Linked DNA regions of Homo sapiens: region 1 is linked to region 2. The links are contacts of gene promoters, found by promoter capture Hi-C in blood cells and fetal thymus (Javierre and others, 2016). All regions are on one chromosome and are shown on one strand. Each heading gives the region's core, a stretch centred on a gene start or on the middle of the fragment in contact. The rest is flanking DNA. Distances are from core to core; before and after follow the strand shown.

Region 1 (5,106 bases), core at 1,673-4,172, 2.9 Mb after region 2:
CACGCTCCCATGTGATAGTTTCACTTGTCTTTTTGGTTAGTTCTGCTACCCTAGTTCATGTCCCCGCGAGAGGAAACGTATTCCCCCTCACATTAGACAGAAGAGCCTCGATTCACCGTGGAGGCTGACGGAGGGCCACTCCAGCAACTGAGCAGCTCGGACTTGGCACAGGCAGGGTCCAGCCTACCCGCGGCCGGCGCGGCGCCTCAGCAACACCCCCTCCCCCGGAAGTTTGTGCGTCTCAGATGTAAGGTCTGGGAGTCACCTTGACCCCCCTGGAGCGGTGGGGAAAGTTAGCCCTGAGCCCGAGGGGGCGTGAGTGAAACCAAAGAGCACTTTCGCGAGTCAGTTACGCCGTCACGGTTTTTTGGTTTCAAGGTAGCTGAAGACCTAGAGAGTTTAAGGGTGGCCAGAGCAGGTGGCAGGACTCCGCCCACCACCACGCTTCCCTTCCTTCAGCCCGCACGCTTCACTCCCCTCATGGGGTCTCGCCTCTCAGGCGCGCGCGAAGAGTTGTCGCGCGGTGCGTCCTGGGAATTGTAGTCCCGACGCGGAGAGTCGCCTCAGGAGAAATGACTCTGGCCTACATACCCCACAGTGCCTTGCGGCGCAGGCCGCTCCCGGATGTGTGCCTGGCGCCGGAAGAGAAGACGGCCCCCCTCTCTCGGCCCGGCCATCTTGTGGGAAGAGCTGAAGCAGGCGCTCTTGGCTCGGCGCGGCCCGCTGCAATCCGTGGAGGAACGCGCCGCCGAGCCACCATCATGCCTGGGCACTTACAGGAAGGCTTCGGCTGCGTGGTCACCAACCGATTCGACCAGTTATTTGACGACGAATCGGACCCCTTCGAGGTGCTGAAGGCAGCAGAGAACAAGAAAAAAGAAGCCGGCGGGGGCGGCGTTGGGGGCCCTGGGGCCAAGAGCGCAGCTCAGGCCGCGGCCCAGACCAACTCCAACGCGGCAGGCAAACAGCTGCGCAAGGAGTCCCAGAAAGACCGCAAGAACCCGCTGCCCCCCAGCGTTGGCGTGGTTGACAAGAAAGAGGAGACGCAGCCGCCCGTGGCGCTTAAGAAAGAAGGTAAAGCAGGGGCAGAATGTGGGGGAGACTGGGATGGAGGGAAGGAGCGAGGGGGCTGCCGGCTGCCACTTGTTTCTGGAGCTCCGAGGGTCCGCGGGAGACTTTGCCGCCTATATCCTCACGTTTCTTCACGCGACAAAAGTCCGGTCCTGCGAAGGTGCCAGGAGCGTGGTAGCCCCAAGTTCAAGCCACCGCCGGCGAGGTTCTCGGAGCCATCCCCTTCCCGCCTCAGGTTGTGAGCAGAGGAGCGTGGTCGGAGATGAGCTGCTCCTCGAGCGCGCTCGAGGTCCTGGGAGGCTGTTGCCTTCCCGCCGGATTCCTTGGCGGGTGAGCGCATGGACTGAGGTGCGGGGAAGCCGGCCCCTCACCGAAGCTTTCCGTAGTTACGGAGGAGCTTGGGGGTCCATCGCTGCTTACTGCGCAGAGCTGCTCCTTTGAGGTGCTGTTGTTTCAGGCTCCTGTCCTGCCGTCTTGTCCCACGACGGCGCGGAGTATCCCCGCTGAAAAGCAGGGGGTCGTTCCAGGCCATCAGACGTGTGGAGTAAGCTGCAGGTTGGGGTGCCGCATGTCCTTTATTTGTTTCTCTTCCACCTCTCAACTGTTAGGACTTTCTCATAACTTGCTGGGGTGAGTTGAGCCGTTGGGAAATGGAGGAGTTTGGCCACACTCGATTAACCAGGAGCGGGAATTATGAATGAAGACTGGTGATTGCAGGACATCCCGAGGAACGTCCTCGAGTCACGATCCTCTCTCTCGACTCCCCAAACTGAATCTTTCACGTGGTGGGGTCTGGGCCTCGTGGGTGAAGTGAGTGCAGAGGCTGTCACAGCGTTAGTCGCAGCAGAGCTCTTTAGAGTTCGCAGTTTTTTTTTTCCACCACATGTGCGTGAAGCATGGTCAGAGTTTCACTGGCGGTTAATAGTTGTTTCTAGGGCACTGTGAGTTTCACAGGATTGTCTTGATTTTTGCATTCGCTTTACCAGTTTGTTGCGGATGAAAAAAAAGAGCAAGCAGTTTGGAGATAAGAACGTGCATGATCAATAGCAAGCAGGTGTTGGACCTAAGGTCTGAATCTTTAAAGCTGCATTTATATGTTGAAAGTTGAAATTACCCCTTCCTGCCACGTGCTTCTCTGAAAGGAGTTGTTTCTCTTTAGCTTTAGTTGAATTCTGTAACAGTGAACTAATTTTAAAAATCAAAACAATTTTCTCGTGGTAGGATTTGTTTTAGGAGGGTTTTTTTTTTTTTTTTTGAGGACTTTTGTGAGGCTCGGAATGAAGAACCTCGGTCCTAGGTGGTGAATAAAAGAAAATAATTAATTCTTGTGGTAAAATTATAGGTTGAGGAAAAATACAGTTGGAGTATTAGAAAGCATGTATATCACTTAGGCCAAGTATCTCTTCAGCCAGTTAAGCTTTATGGCAATCTAGCACAATTAAATAAATCATTTAATTCGTGTGTTAAGTAACGCTGACTTGTGTAATTATTTAAACTATGCTTAAGCTTAAGAAAGTACACGAAAAAGTTGAATCTGACGAATAATGTGTACCAGGTAGATGTGTTCACTCATTTTGAATGTTCAAAACATGAAGCATGGTTTAAATGCCTGAGTTATTTTGATCATGAAGCCCATCTATGAAATAAGCTCTTACCTGAAAAGTAGTATTTTAAGTTAACAAATGTGGGGAATGATTTCATGAAGTTAGAACCAAGACTTAGGTTCACCGTTCAATGAGTCTTTCCATGGGAAAACTATTCCATGTTAGCAATCAGCATTTTCCTTAGGTCAGTATTTCAGAGCACTACTGTTAAGTTGCATAAAATACAAGCATGTAAAATACAGGAAAAGTGTTGAATGGACAATACCCGTTTTGAGATTCTACTGTCCTGATTACTGGGAATAAATCTGTAAACAAAGTCGCTGCATGTAGTAGGAAGGTTAACCTGATTGTGTTCTGTGATTTTGATAACACATTGTGACATAATACTTGACATACTTTAGACAGATATTTAATGTTTATGTTTTATGAATTAATTTTGTACATTCTCTTGCCCATTTGAAGAACTTGAGAATTGACAGCAGAATGTCATTGAGAGTGTAGACCAGGGATTTTCTAAAAAAGAATGAATGCCTTGAAACTAGTGCAGTTAGTGAGCTTGCAAGTTATAGATAAGTATATCAAAAGAAGCTTGCATTTTTAAATGTCAGTCTTTTTCATTAGGTAGGTTTAATACGTTTTTAAGATTCTGTAAACTTGATATTGGGTGGGGACGCCAACTATTGTTCACTTGGGTGTGTTTGGCTTGGATATTATTGCAAGGACTGGTTCCATAACTCCACCCCAGTGCACTTTATTACTGATGACATTTATTTAAATACCTTGGTGTAAGGTCTAATATTTGTAGTCTATCTTGAGTATTTACAGGGAATGAACTTCAAAATTCTATTGAAGAGATTGATAGTTACTGTTTGGCTCCAGTTAACAGGCAGCAGAACAACTGGGTGTGTCTTGATGGTGTTCTACTTTCTTAGAAAGAACCAAAGTGAAGCAGCTTAAAATCTTGTAAAACCAATTCCTCAGCTGCTTTATGACTTTGTCAGAAATTGGGAATTAGAGCATACCAACAATCTTAAAGTCATTAATTTAACCATCAATCTGTTGATCCTTATGGGCACCAATAATTTAAATTGGTTGCCTTTGTGGGGTTTCAGACATTACAGGAAAAAAGTAGTAAAGGGGGAAATTAGTAAATGCTTCAGCTATCACTTAGTGTCACAAGTTTTCTTATTTCTTACATGTTGCTTAAAAGCGGTCTTAACGTGTGTGTATTTGGTTTTTAAAGATTCTTTGAAAATAAAGATAGTTGTTAGGGCAAATTTTTTAGAGGACTCTCTCCATGCATAATAAGTAACTGTTTCCTAACTTGGAAGTACTTAGGGATGTGGGAGTGTGTACAAACATATATACACTTACATGCTATAAAATTTTAAACTTTAATAGGGGAAGATGGCCCTTTTTGTGTGCCTGTAGCTAAGAAGACCAAAAGATGACACTTTTTCTGGTTAAATGGCTGTTTTAAACTGAAGTGATGTTCTCTAATAATCCTAAATGCCATATTTTCCTTTCAGATTTGTAATTTTATAGAATTATGAGTCTTAATTGCATTTTTTTTTCAGATTAGATAGAATAACATAGTGCGGCCCTCACTTTTGTGAGGGGCCATATCTAGTGAGTGTGTTGATTTGCTTGGTTATTTATGAATGGCTGCTGGTATTTTCTTTGGTATTTTAAAAGCCAAAATGTATTGCTTGCCTAAAATTTTTTAAATTTAAAAGTTTTTATTAAGAGACTATCTTGGAAAGTGACGGGAATAATGGTTGCCCAAATGATTTCCAAGTCAGTTATAGAAAATGCTTTTGAGGGGGAGAACTTGGCAAACTTAAATAGAAGTTTAAAATAAGTTTATTGTTTTTATTTTATTTATTTATGTATTTAGTCGGTGGTATGGATTGGAAGGTTTATTGTCTTTAAATGGCAGTTTTCCTAAGGTACTTTGTTACACATTAGAGTTGCCCAGTGTTTGCTTTTTTCCAACAGGAAATGGTAGTGGATTGGAAGAGAAGCAGCTTTTGACAGTCCAGGCCTAAAGTTTTTGGATTGCAAAAATAATTTGCTTATGCAGGTTATCTTATCGTTTTAGGAATAAGACGAGTTGGAAGAAGACCTGATCAACAACTTCAGGGTGAAGGGAAAATAATTGATAGAAGACCAGAAAGGCGACCACCTCGTGAACGAAGATTCGAAAAGCCACTTGAAGAAAAGGGTGAAGGAGGCGAATTTTCAGTTGATAGGTAAGTTGTTTCTTGTTTTTGAGCCAGGGTCTTGGTCTAACATGTAGGCTGGAGTGCAGTGGTACAAGCTTGGCTCACTGCAGCCTCTGCTTCCTGGGCTCAAATGATCCTCTCATCTCAGTCTCCTCTTGAGTAGCTCGGACTACAAGGTCACGCCACCACACTGCTAATTTTTTTTG
Region 2 (4,666 bases), core at 537-3,036:
CTGCCCGCCTCAGCCTCCCAAAGTGCTGGAATTACAGGCATAAGCCACCGCGCCCGGCCAAGTGTAAACTTTTAAGATGACATACAAAGCCCTGCATGACCTGGCCCTTCCTCTCTCTCTAGCCTTACTGTCAGATTTGACTGTACCACATTCTAGCATTGAAGTATTGGGCAAGTTTTTTTTAACTGTCAAGTGAGGATACTAATGCTAATCAGGGGGAGATAACAGCATATAAAGTGCCAAGCATACTGCCTGGCTTAGCGTTAACAATAAATATTGGCTATTGTGGAAGAAGCAAACATTATTGCATGTATTTTTTCAGTCTCTACTGCTGTCTCAAGAGGATGCTTTGAACTGTTGATTGGGTAATGTTTTAACATAAACGGAACTCTCCACTCCACCGAAAAAGAAAGAAGAGGAAGAAACAGATTTATCTGAACAGACTGAGAAGAAAATTGGAGGTGAAAAGTTGAGTGACTGGGGAGGATTAAGAGAGGCCCATCGAGTTGTTTGTTTGCGGAGATGAGTTAGCAGTAGTATAAACTTTAAGAAAGAAGAGATCTGGCCGGGCGCAGTGGCTCATGCCTGTAATCCCAGCACTTTGGGAGGCTGAGGCTGGCGGATCACTGAGGTCAGGGGTTCAAGACCAGCCTGGCCAACACGGTGAAACCCCGTCTCTACTAAAAATACAACAATTAGCTTGGTGTGGTGGCGCAGGCCTATAATCCCAGCTACTCTGGAGGCTGAGGCAGGAGAATCGCTTGGACCTGGGAGGTGGAGGTCGCAGTGAGCCGAGATTGCACCACTGCACTCTAGCCTGGACTACAGAGACTCTGTCAAAAAAACAAAAAAACAAAAAAAAGAGAGAGAGATCTGAAGTATTTGCTCTCAGAACATAGGGGGACTTTGGAGAGTTAAATGGGTGAAGATCTTTAGGATGTTTTGCTAAGCCCCCTCCTTACGTCCTCAGTGGCCAGCTTTAGTTACTTTGTTAAAGTTTTATGGTTGGCAGATTTACGTTTCTTCAGAGTTTGACACTAGGTTGAGGTTGGCCATGAACTAATACAATTATATTTCAGTTACACGATTCTTTGCCCTCCTTGAGTGTCCCCACCCTCATATATGTTAACTCTGACATCTGCCCGAAATTCATTCATCTAATAAATATTTGAGTGGCCTCCCCTCTTTCCGATTGCTGGACAGCCCATCATTTTCCAAAGTCAGCACCTAAACTCTTCTATGACTTTCCTGACAACTCAACACTAAAATTCGTCCCTCCCTTTTTTGTGTGCAACCCACCTCCCCGCCTCCGCTTTTAATTGTTTGGCCTTCATTCCTCTTCTACAGTGCTCCCTGCAATCAGTACTGGTGCTGTACATATTTGCTAGCTTCGTACATACGGCACGAAGTAGATGCTCAGTAAATGTTGGTTGACTGAGTATCCTCTGCATCTCGGTGACATCACATCCTGCGTGCCGTGGCGTCATTCTGCATTCCTCTGCGGGAGGCTCAGATCCGGAGGGTTTAAGTGGTTGTTTATAACATGCACCGAACATATCCAACGGAGGCTGTGGTTTCCGACCGCCCACAAAAAGCGCGGTTGGCGGGAGTGCGGGTTCGGGGTCGGCTGGCAGCTGGGAGACTCCAGCTCTGGGCGGAAACACACTGCCTCGGAGGCGCCGGCGCCTAGTGATTCTGGGAATAGAAGGTGCGAGGGAGGGAGCGGGTGGCTCACTTATCGCGGTGTTTTCTCTCTCTTCACTCCTGGGGGAGCTCTCGCGAGAGGAGCAAGAGGAAGATGGCCGTGCCCTGTTTTTCGGTGTAAGGCAGCGACGGCGGCTGCGACGGCGAGACTGAGATCCTGGTGTCGTGGGCACCTGAGTTCTAGCTTCCCCCAGCGAGCGCGCGTCCCTTCGTGCCTAGGCGAGAGCCGGCTCTTCCCCGGGAGATGCGTTTGTCCCAGGCTCGGGGGCTCAGTGGGAGTTCATGCTGCGCTGGAGGCTCTTGGCCACCGCTCTAATCGCCTTGTGCCGCCGCAGCGCCAGCTCCGTCGCCAGCGGTGAGCCTCCCGATTCCCCCCCTTGCCCCTGGCGGCGGCGATGACCGGGGAGAAGATCCGCTCACTGCGGAGGGACCACAAGCCCAGCAAAGAAGAAGGGGACCTGCTGGAGCCCGGGGATGAGGAAGCGGCGGCTGCCCTCGGCGGTACCTTTACCAGAAGCAGGATTGGCAAGGGCGGCAAAGCTTGTCATAAGATCTTCAGTAACCATCACCACCGGCTACAGCTGAAGGCAGCTCCGGCCTCCTCCAATCCCCCCGGCGCCCCGGCTCTGCCGCTGCACAATTCCTCCGTGACTGCCAACTCCCAGTCCCCGGCCCTTCTGGCCGGCACCAACCCCGTTGCTGTCGTCGCGGATGGAGGCAGTTGCCCCGCACACTACCCGGTGCACGAGTGCGTCTTCAAGGGGGATGTGAGGAGACTCTCCTCTCTCATCCGCACGCACAATATCGGGCAGAAAGATAATCACGGTGAGGAGTGCTAGCCCCTCTCCACCTCTCTCCTTCCCCGAGCCTAGGGTGTGCCTCCCCAGGCTTCTGGAATCCTAGGCCCCCTCCAGCAGACTCTTCTTTTTGCCCATCATCCGGGCCGTTCGGTAAATCATGATCGACTCAGTAATAGCGTGCCAGTGGTCAAGGGGTTGGTTCTTGTGGGTGCAAAGGAATGTATCCTCCTTGCCCACTTCAAAGTTTGTCGTGAGAAGCTGTTTTGTTTGAGACAGGCCTTCGATTTGCTGATTCTGGACTGTCAGAAATTTTAGGTTGCCTCCCACCCAACATGGTTTTCTCCCTTTGTTTATGGAGCTATATATCTTTATTTCTCTCTCTTCCCCCTACCTTGGCATTTTAAATTTTGAACGCATAAATTGCCCTCCTCCCTTCATTGCTCACATACAGATCCCATCTTGACTGCAACTGGTTGTGATTTTGCCTGCCACCAGGTTGTTTCTTTTTTGTCTGCTTTCAGTAAACTTAGAATGTTAGATTTCTGAAAGCCACACAGTAGAAATTTGTTGGTATTTGATACGTAGAACAGTTAAAGTGACTTCTCAACAGCCGATTTTTGTTTGAGTAGAGATTTGATTTTTTGCTTGTTTTAAGTAGATAATTGCTAATAGTAATGTCTCATCTTGATGACTGTGACTAAAAATAGTATTATGATTTTTATGGTAATTTTATCTTAGTCAATATTGACCATTTCTTTTTGCCTTGTCAGCTGAATTTTTTGTTTAATTCTAAAAAATAATGTGACTGAGTTGACTTTTAAGCAACAGTAAATTTATTATTGAAGACTAATGTGAACACTGACATTTTAACATTTAATAGCCGTTTTAAACTGGGTAGTTGGCAAATATTGTTGATCGCTCTGCTATTAATATGAAAATTGTATACATTCAGTTAGAACACACTGAACCAACTTTGTGCTCAAAATGATATACGTATCAATGAAATATTTGCCTGTGAAATAAGCTCACTTAATTCCATTGGATCGTAGGCTTTTTAGGACAAAAATTCAGATAAAAAAAACGAGTAAGATTTCTCTTGGCTGTATAATTATCTAACAACTGCATTTGTTTTCAGAATTTACAATGTTGTAATTGTAATAAAATCACCACCTATCATTTATCATAAATCCCCAAAAAAGTATGTTAAAGTTGCAGCCAGTTTTTCTTTCCTACATTTAAATTACTTAATCATTTTACTATTATAGTACAAGGATAATGTTGTTTGTTGATGATGGTAATTCTATGCTAGCCCTTTGGAAAACAGTTGTTAGTGGGAGATGGGTTGTAGCTTCAGTTTATTAGTCTATTATGAGGAAGTTTTTCAAATTTGGTTTACATAGTAGCCATAGTTACATTACCTTGAAATATCCCTGAAACAGATAAAAGGTTTGAGAGTTAACTCCCTTTGAAAGAAGAGATGGATGAATATCACTGAAGCTATTGAATTACAGGATTGTTGGGCTTCCATGTCTTCTTCAACCCAACATTTAGGAGTACATTTGTTTAAGTTCAAATTCTGTTCAAAGTAATTAGAATCCTGTATACTCTTAAACTCTTGTCCTTAGCCCACTGAAATTAACTTTTTTTTTTTTTTTTTTTTTTTTGAGACGGAGTCTTGCTCTGTCGCCCAGGCTGGAGTGCAGTGGTGCAATCTCCGCTCACTGCAAGCTCCGCCTCCCGGGTTCACGCCATTCTCCTGCCTCAGCCTCCTGAGTAGCTGGTAGTACAGGCGCCCACCACCGCGCCAGGCTAATTTTTTTGTAATTTTAGTAGAGACGGGGTTTCACTGTGTGAGCCGGGATGGTCTCCATCTCCTGACCTCGTGATCTGCCCGCCTCGGCCTCCCAGAGTGCTGGGATTACAGGCCTGAGCCACCGCGCCTGGCCTTGAAATTCACTTTTTTAAAGGAAGGTTTTTATTGTGTTTAGCTGACCTTATATCATTGATGTTTCTGATTAATGTAACCGGTGGTTCACATACCTGGGGTAAATATAATTGCTTTCCCCCCTGCAATGTGTACATGCTCATCTCCTACAGTGAGGTGTCCTAGGAACTGTGGCTTCAATTTAATGTGCTTCTTATTTAGTCATTTTTTCTCCCAT

Evidence for each region. Contacts are between HindIII fragments. The CHiCAGO score rates a contact against its expected background, and 5 or more counts as called.
Region 1: a contact is called between a fragment that was not itself captured here and the fragment with the promoter of ANKRD13C in region 2, in 3 of 17 cell types (total B cells, naive CD8 T cells and non-activated CD4 T cells). The highest score is 7.4, in total B cells.

The regions. Positions count from the first base shown.
Region 1 is chr1:67,425,956-67,431,061 of GRCh38, reverse strand. It overlaps SERBP1 (SERPINE1 mRNA binding protein 1), which reads left to right and starts at 660. Exons shown (of 8, transcript NM_001018069.2): 1 at 660-1,074; 2 at 4,777-4,927. The coding sequence starts at 762. RefSeq lists enhancers at 9-188, 219-298, 509-778, 216-851, 1,487-2,123. The HindIII fragment of the contact is 686 bases long and covers 2,580-3,265 here.
Region 2 is chr1:70,351,842-70,356,507 of GRCh38, reverse strand. It overlaps ANKRD13C (ankyrin repeat domain 13C), which reads left to right and starts at 1,786. Exons shown (of 13, transcript NM_030816.5): 1 at 1,786-2,529. The coding sequence starts at 2,100. It overlaps ANKRD13C-DT (ANKRD13C divergent transcript), which reads right to left and starts at 1,697. Exons shown (of 4, transcript NR_168352.1): 1 at 1,300-1,697. RefSeq lists enhancers at 1,407-1,466, 1,567-1,626, 1,677-1,866, 1,897-1,956, 1,084-2,001 and 3 more. The HindIII fragment of the contact is 4,699 bases long and covers 1-2,246 here.